Regions from separate parts of the Homo sapiens genome. Here regions 1 and 2 are each linked to region 3. Evidence: promoter capture Hi-C in 16 types of primary human blood cells and fetal thymus (Javierre and others, 2016). All regions are on one chromosome and are shown on one strand. The core of a region is centred on a gene start or on the middle of the fragment in contact, and the rest is flanking DNA. Distances in the headings are between cores, read along the strand shown. Region 1 holds the start of NSUN7 (NOP2/Sun RNA methyltransferase family member 7). Region 2 holds the start of RFC1 (replication factor C subunit 1). Region 3 holds the start of N4BP2 (NEDD4 binding protein 2).

Region 1 (2,700 bases), core at 180-2,679, 690 kb before region 3:
TGGGAAGCTGAAGAGGGAGGATTCCTTGAGGTCCAGAGTTTGAGACCAGCCCAGACAATAAAGCGAGACCCCTAAGTCTACGAGGGAAAAAAAAATACAGGGAGAGGGAAATGATCATTGGAATAAATTGTTTCCTTGTTGAATGTAATGACCGCGCACTACACCGATCTAAGGACAAACACAGTGCACGGGGAAATCTGCAATCCTGGGCTGGAAGAGCTAGTTTCATGGGAACCCTAATTCCTTGACACTTGCAATTAACCAAAGATATGCACATGCCTAAAACCAAAACCTGGTGTGAATGAGGGGAAGGGAGGAGGAGGGCTGCATTCCCCAAATTCTCTCGCTATTATTTTCTTTTAGTGTTGATCTTCCAGACTGGCACAACTCACATTTCAGGGCACTGAAAGCCAGCTCATAAGACAAACGCTGAAAGGACTGATCCTCAGACTCGGACAAGGACCGCAGGGGTTCATTCCCATACTTGATTAAGACTTTCTGTGCCGACTTTTCGATTCGAATACCCTGAAAAATGTTGGCTGCCATGACATAAACGGAGTCCGGATAGCCCGTTTTTTCGGGCACACCAGCTGAGCTTTTCCCACCGGACAGAGGCAGGGAAGTGAGTTGGGAGATGATCTCGGGATCTTCTTCGTTCGAAAACTCCAGTTCGCCCGTGGAATTCAGCATGTCTGCCCCTCGCCTGTCGTGAGTCCTTCACCCTGGGGTTAGAATTCCGATGTTCCAGGAAACGGCTTTCCTCGCATCTGCAGCATGGTCTCTGTGAAGAGAGAAGGTGATTGCAGTAAATCACTCTTTCTGCAGCACCCCTGTGGGTGGCCCCCTTCGTTGTGGCCTTAAAGACTAAGAGGGAGCATTTCCCGTCCCATCTGAGTGTCCCAGACTTCGAGCCTGGGACGCTCAAAAAAAAAAAAAAAAGCGAGGAGGGGTGCAGCGGCGGAGGGAGAAGAGCCCCAAGGAGACCGACGGCTTCCCTCAAGCCAGTCTGGGGGCAGAGCTGCCCCCGGAGCCCCGTCCGCGTCCCCACAGCCCAGTCACCGGCTCCCCCGACTCCTCCCTTACCCCGAGGGCGGATGGTTCCCGGGGCTTCGGGGACGAAGACGCGGAGGGCGGCGTCGGTCACAGGCCCTTGGGAGCCCCGGGACTGCGGGGCGACGGCTGCTGCCCGCGAAGGCCGTTTGGTTCAAATGCAGCCACTCCCACCGGCAGGATTCGGGGCAGGGGGGTCGCAGCCTCTGGCGCCCGGTTCGCTCCGGTGTCGTGAAGTGGTGGGCGCCTCGGGGCCTCGCCTGGCCTCGCGCGTGAGGCCTTCGCGGACGTGGCGGCGAAGAGGGGTGAGCGCGGTGCCCGGGGTCTGGCTGGCTCAGGCCGAGGAAAGCTCAGCCTCCCGAGTCTCCGGCAGTCGACTGCTCCCGGACCGGGTCTTCATGGCAACCGCGAGCGGAGGTGGGGCAGGGGGCGCGGCGCGAGGGCCGTTCCCGCGGGATTTGGCGGGTGCTACCTGTTGCCGGGAGAGTCGCTCTTCCCCCAGCGCGCGGAGACACCTGTTTCAGCCCCTCCGAGCCAGAGGCCTCTTGCACAGTTCCTGGACCTCACCGGGCCTGAGTGCGTGCCCTTGGCTTTGTTTATAAACATTTGGGGATATTTTTGAGGTAGTCTGACGTAGTTCCGTGGTTTTAACTCACAAGTTCCTGAAGTCCCTGTTAAAACTACACATTCTTTAAAATATTTTTAAAATATAGTAATAATTTTTTTTTTGAGACATGGTCTCGCTCTGTCGCCCAGGCTGGAGTGCAGTGGCGCAATCTCGGTTCACTGCAGCCTCCTCCTCCCGGGTTCACGTGATTCTCATGCCTCAGCCTCCCGAGTAGCTGGGACTACAGGCGCCCGCCACCACACCCTGCTAATTTTTGTATTTTTAGTAGAGACAGGGTTTCACCGTGTTGATCAAGTTAGTCTCGAACTCCTGACGTCAAGTGATCTGCCGGCCTTGGCCTCCCAACGTGCTGGGATTACATGCGTGAGCCACTGCGCCGTCTGTAATAATTTTTTTTAATAACAGAGACAGGGTTCCCATTATGTTGCCCAGGGTGGTCTCGAATTCCTGGGCTCAAGGAGTCCTCCCTCCTCGGCCTCCCAAAGTGCTGGGATTTCAGGCGTGAACCACCGCCTCCAGCTAAAAAAAAATCCTTGGAACCCATCCTAGAGATTTGAGTTGCTAAGACCCAGTAATTTGCATTTTTATCAGGTAACTGGCGATTCTGATGCAATCAGCCCAAAGACCACAGTTTGAAAAACTCTGGTATAGTTGAAAGACAACTGGTCCTAATTCCACCTCTGCCTTTCCTCCTTAGGGATTTGCCCTTCCTTCTTTAGGCTAAGGCCATTTCCATTTCCAGCCAGTGGTTAGTAGGATGAAGGGGAAAGAGAGGGCAGCCCATATTTTTCAATGACCTGAAAGGTGCACATATCACTTTGGCTCACATTTTATTGGTCAGAACTCAGTCATATACCCAGCAACCAAGAGGCTGGTAAATGTGTCCAGCTAAAAATAAGGGAACTATTACTGTAGAAGAAGGAGAGAATGGATAATGGGGAAAAAATTAGCAGTACAGAACTCTAACCCTGACCCCTTCTCTCAGAAATCCACCCACTTTCATTATCCCCGGAATACGTTAA
Region 2 (2,700 bases), core at 89-2,588, 690 kb after region 3:
TCAAGGAAGGCTTCAAATGCCAAAAAAAAAAAAAAGCAAAAGTTAAGAGGAATGTAATATAAAAGACACGTACAACTTTTTATGTCTTATTTACTCATTTATTGATTTATAACACAATGAACATTATAAATTGGTGTAGGTCCTCTAAAATTATGGGCAAAAATTTGTGTGATATGTCTGCTAAGACAAAACCGAGGCACAGTAACTTGCCCTTGGTCACATAAATAGCAGGTGGTGGGGCTGGAGACCTAGCATCCTGGCTTCAGAGGGAACAGTGCAGTGAGGCCCTGTTAATAAGTAACAGTCTGTCTGTAAATTCGGGATAAGAGTAGTCAGTGTCATCATGGGGATAAAATGAGCTAGGCTAGTCCAGAGCTGCACGTACAACAATAGGCGTTTAATAAATACAAGCTGTCAATGCTCAGCCTCTGTTGTATTCCAGGCTGTTCTATCTTTCGCCATAGAAATGTTGGTGTCATAAAGCGCAAGACCCAACAGGGGGTGGATGGGTGAGAATTTCAAAAGTGTAGCTAGAGCCAAAGCTGGAGATACTGCTTTCTCCATTGAACTCTTTATGGTCTAATCTTTCTCTTGAAATCGTACGCAAATGTTTCATTGTATTCCGTGATTCAATTGCTAATCTATTCATATACAACTGGTTTACCCCAAAGCTTTCGGTATCTTTTCTTTTTTTTGAGGCGGAGTTTCGCTCTGTCGCCCAGGCTAAAGGGCAGTAGCTCGATCTCGGCTCACTGCACCACTGCCTCCTGGGTTCAAGCAATTCTCCTGTCTCAGTCTCCCGAGTAGCTGGGACTACAGGCACACGTCACCACCCCCTGGCTAATTTTTGTATTTTTAGTAGAGACGGGGTTTCACCACATTGGTCAGGTGGTCTCGAACTCCTGACCTCAGGTGACCCACCCGCCTCGGCCTCCCAAAGTGCTGGGATTAGAGGGGTGAGCCACCGCGTCCGGCCTCTTGATGAAACCTTATTACAGAATAGATATTTATACATAATATGTAAAACGCACAGCTAAAACATTTATCTTACTAAAGTTGGTAGTAAAAACTTTTCAAAGTTACTATAGGGAAGTGCATTGTCCAGACGTGTAACCGGGAGGTACTTGGGTACCCCGCCTGCCAAGGAAACCAATATCGGATCCCCCTACTTTAGCGCCCCCGCCAAAAACCGAGCTCACACCAAAGCACCGTGGTTCCTCTCGATGTCAGCGGCCCGCCTGCCCTCGGGGCAGCACCTGGGCAGGCGTCGCACCTCCCGCCTCTGGGCGGGACGGAAGCAAAGCTCGCGCCTCCTGACGTCATCACCGCGCGCCACTGTCTTCGCCTTCTTGCACTTCGCGGGAGAAGTTGTTGGCGCGAATGGATCCTGAGCCTCGATAACAGATTCCTCAACCGGCCCACCCGCCAGCCAGCCAGCGCCTTCATCCTGGGGCTGCGATGGTGAGCCGCTGGGGGAGGCCGTGCGGCTCGGGGTCTGGGGGGGCTTTGCAGGCCTGGTGTGGACCGGGCACTCCTGGTATGCAGGGTGGGGGAGGATGGCGGTGGGTGGTTCCGGAGGCTAGCAAAGGCAGAGAAGGGGCCGCACACCGGGCACTGGACGCAAAACTTTCATTGCATCGCGGGCTCTGGCTCTGGGCGGCAGCCAGCGCGCAGGGATTTTGTTGCTACGTGTACTTGCACTTTCCCCCCGCCCCCCACTCTTGGGGGAAGGGAGAAAGGAAGAGAGGAAGGATGGTGGTTTTGGGACGCATTGGTAAAGTTATTTTCTTGTTCGGCGTTGCCCGAACCTCAGTTTGAGTACTGCCTAAAGCGTGGATTTCAAGCTTTGGGTCACGAGGGAGAAGAATGTAACAAACTTTTCTTTCTTAGGGAATATGTTGTGTAGGGCCTTAAACTTTTATCATTAACAGCTCAGCTCGTCTCATCTCCGCTCGTCATTAACGATCACCTGAGCGGTGTTGAGACCGAGGGCATGGAGAGGATATTTTATTTTGTTTAGATGAGTTCATAGGAGTCAAAAGGATAACATGGCTTACTAGGAAAAAGAAGTACAGCGAATAGAAACAGATGCAAGACATTTGACAGCTGTCATCCTCTTACCACCTGATGTTTAAAATCTGAAAAAAACCCAAGCCTCACTGCATAATTCTGGATAAAATGTTCAAACAAATTGAAAGTGAAATGATTATGCAGCCAGCAAAGCAGACATTCCTGATGGTATGGCAATGGATATGGCTCTGTGTTTGAAATATTTTTAAAGGACCATTTAAAATGTTCATTAAGCTAGAAGATACTTAACAATCCGATATAATTTTTTTCAATCATTGGTCAACGTGTCACAGTGACAACATTCTGGGGGGGGGCGGTGAAAATTTTATGCCACACTGGGAAACGTTGCAGGCCTTTGTGTTTCTTCTCAAAAAAGGGCAACAGTAATGATAGTAGCTACCTTGTACCAAGCATCTTCTTTAGGTCAATATGTGAACTGTTGGTTTTCCATGGTTTTTTTTTTTTTTTTTTTTTTTCATTTCAACCCACATCGATGCAGTTTTACAGATGGTGCAAGCACCTTTTTGGAATTTAAACAGTGTATCATATAACTAGTAGGTGGTTGAACTAGAATTAGAATCTTGGTGTTTCTGACCACCATGTTATACTACTTCCCTATAATGATCATCA
Region 3 (2,700 bases), core at 201-2,700:
ACACGATGTTTACATTTCCTAAAGCGCGTCTTTTAGTTAAAATTAAAGGATGAGAGTTAAAACGAGTTACAAAAGACAGCTGGTGTTTGAAAGAAAAACACTGGAAGTAATAAAAACGGAGTGAAAAGGCTGATGTTGGGATTAAAAGAAAACATTTTTTTAATACAGCTGCAAATCAGTCATTGTTTTCTGAGAGGCTAGGTTCATCTCCAGGATTTTCTTCTAGGAGCTCAACCAATGGCCACCTTTACTGAGTTAACCAGTCTCCAGGCAAGCAGCCCTTGCTGATTGGCTCAAAGATGTCGAGTAGAAAAAGCAGCCAATCCTGCCTTCAAGCCAGAACTGTGCCATGGAGACATTACAACCACTGCATGGCGAGAATGTGTACAAACCTGTCCGTGCCACAAATATCAGATCCTAGTTACAAAGACTGCCGCCGAAAGGAAGAGCCTTTGAAGCCAACACTGACACTGACCTGTCATCTACATTCTATTACTCTAGCTCTCTTTCGGAGGGAAAAAAAAAACTATTTTAACCAAAAGCGCATGAGAGATAAACTGTGCCCCCGCTAAGATGACTCACTCTATTGAGGATGAATTTCCAAACGGACGGCTTAGAGAGAGTCCCGATGAGAGAGGGGCTCTAGAAGGGTCCCATTGAGGGACAAAGTTGCAGATGGGGGCAGGGGAGGCGGGACGAGGGCCAAAGACACACAAATGCCGGGGAGGGGAAAGTCTCCCCGCAGTCTCCAAAATCCGAACGTGTGAGTGGCTGTGTGTCTGGACTTGAACTGAGTAAATAAACGGCTCTGCTAGGACTATGTGCTCAGGAAGGTGGCCTGAAGTTCCCAGAAGGCTCCGCCTGGCAAACACCTAAGGCGCCTGGAGGGGCGCAAGGTCAGGTCCCGGCGGGAACAGATCTGGGAGGAAACCTCGGGGGGTCGAGAGGGGTGTGTCTGGGGCCTGGAGGCCCGCCAGGCACTCGGAGGCCAAGGAAGCGGCCGCGGCCCCCGCCTTCGCCCGGCCTCGGGCTGAGCGCCAGGGCCCGCCTCTCGCCGACGCCTCACTTCCCTTCCGTCCGGGCAGCCGGGCCCGCGGGTCAGATCGGAGGCGGCCCGCGCCGGGCCCCACATTCAGGGCTTGGGGGTTCATTCGCCGCGCCGCCCGCCGCTGCTTCAGGCCCTCCGCTTCGGCTCGGAGCCCCGGGACCCCTAACCTCCAGGGCCCTCACCTTGGACCCGCCTCCCTGCCTCCCACCCGCCGCCTTTACCTGCTTCTGGAGCGGGCAGAGGGCGTCGAAGCCGGTGCCGCGTCGTCGAACGCACAACGCGGCGCCGCAGGTCCGCAGCCCTTTCCCGCCGGCGCCACTGCGCTCTCCCGCGCCGCGCAAGGCTAGCAAGCAGCTGCGGCCGCGGGGGAGACACGGCGAGCGCGCCCGGCGGGGAGACACTGCCGCTCTCCGTCCGGCCGGGGAAGAGCAGCCGCGCAGAAGCCCGCCGCGAGAGGGCGGGTGGGCGGCCGGGTGGGGAGGGGTCTCGAGGCGCCGGCAATGGCTGCCACGTCGCCCAGGTGGATCGCCGCCCACCGCCCCCCCCCAAGCCCGCCGGCTGTCCGCCACGACCTCTGCTTCGTCCCCGAGCTCCGCCTCGGCGCGGCGGCCCGGGGGACTTGAGCCCGCGGGCGCTCCCACCTCTCCCGCTCCCGCTCTCCCGTTGGAGAGCAAGCCCTGCCCGGCCGGTTCGGCTGCTTCCGGTCGCCCACCCCCCAAGTCTCGCCCGAGAGCGGGCCGTGGTCCCCACTTTTCTTATCAGGGGGTCCCTGGAGGAGCAAGCCCTTCTTCGAGTGTCGGGTTCTGCTTGGGGGGAAGGCGGGAGCTGTTTGGCGCTGGGGAACATTGCAACAGGCCCGGAATTTTTGCCAAAATAAGCGGCGCGGTAAACCACAGCTGTTTCTAGCCCTCGGCACTCTCCCGAGCCCCAAAAAACAAAACAAACACAAGGTCGGCCTCGCGAGGTGAGGGGAGAAAGGAAAGCAGAGCTGGGACGAGCCCTGACGCGCGCGGGGTCCAGGCTGCAAGTTGGGAGGGACGGCGAGGCGAGCGACCGGCCTCGGCATTGCCTGACTAGGGCCGTGGCCGCTGCGGCGGGCACGGGAACCCGCCTTCTCGCGCGCGGCCCTCCCGCGGGGGGCTTCCGGGCGCGCGGCCTCGGAGCCCCACGGGGAGACAAAGGGGTAGGCGACTGCCACGGGGTGGAGGGAGGCTGCCCAGCCCCATCGGCCCTGCCAGCGTGCGGTCTGAGCTCGGGGAATGTGTGCGCCTTAGCCGGTGGAACCGCAGCCGCTGGCCTTTGCCCCCAGTTCGAGCTTGAGTTTTCGGATGCCAAGAAAAAGCAAAGACGTGCTCTTCCCTCTTGCGACCGCTGTAGTATGAGTCCGTCCCCAAGCCTGCACCATTTTTTTTCTCTCAACTCTGCTTTCCCTGGTTTATTTGTTCTGGGTTCTGATGTGAAATGTTTAGTGTTTTCAGGGTACGCAAATTTTTCACCTTTGCTTTCTGGTTGGTGGTGGTGGTGGTGATGGTAGTGGTGGTGGTTTTGCCTGTTTTTTACTTCCTCCGTCCCCTCCCTTTGCGGTTACTTTTCATTCCACTTGCAGTGGTTTTTCCCAGAATAGAGAAGCGAAATAACCTCATGACAAAGTG

Evidence for each region. The method cuts DNA at HindIII sites, captures the fragments that hold promoters and counts their contacts. A CHiCAGO score of 5 or more calls a contact.
Region 1: the fragment with the promoter of NSUN7 here is called in contact with the fragment with the promoter of N4BP2 in region 3 in 3 of 17 cell types (total CD4 T cells, naive B cells and total B cells); the score reaches 8.4 in total CD4 T cells.
Region 2: a contact is called between the fragment with the promoter of RFC1 here and the fragment with the promoter of N4BP2 in region 3, in 3 of 17 cell types (fetal thymus, naive CD8 T cells and non-activated CD4 T cells). The highest score is 6.2, in fetal thymus.

What each region holds. Positions count from the first base shown.
Region 1 is chr4:40,748,684-40,751,383 of GRCh38, reverse strand. NSUN7 (NOP2/Sun RNA methyltransferase family member 7) reads right to left here and starts at 1,429. Exons shown (of 12, transcript NM_024677.6): 1 at 1,084-1,429; 2 at 393-781. The coding sequence starts at 690. The HindIII fragment of the contact is 13,723 bases long and covers 1-2,700 here.
Region 2 is chr4:39,365,000-39,367,699 of GRCh38, reverse strand. It overlaps RFC1 (replication factor C subunit 1), which reads left to right and starts at 1,338. Exons shown (of 25, transcript NM_002913.5): 1 at 1,338-1,461. The coding sequence starts at 1,459. RefSeq lists an enhancer at 1,297-1,416. The HindIII fragment of the contact is 1,173 bases long and covers 674-1,846 here.
Region 3 is chr4:40,055,600-40,058,299 of GRCh38, reverse strand. It overlaps N4BP2 (NEDD4 binding protein 2), which reads right to left and starts at 1,450. Exons shown (of 18, transcript NM_018177.6): 1 at 1,270-1,450. It also overlaps the pseudogene LOC344967. RefSeq lists enhancers at 389-488, 589-638 and silencers at 829-1,178, 1,229-1,688, 2,029-2,238. The HindIII fragment of the contact is 12,311 bases long and covers 1-2,700 here.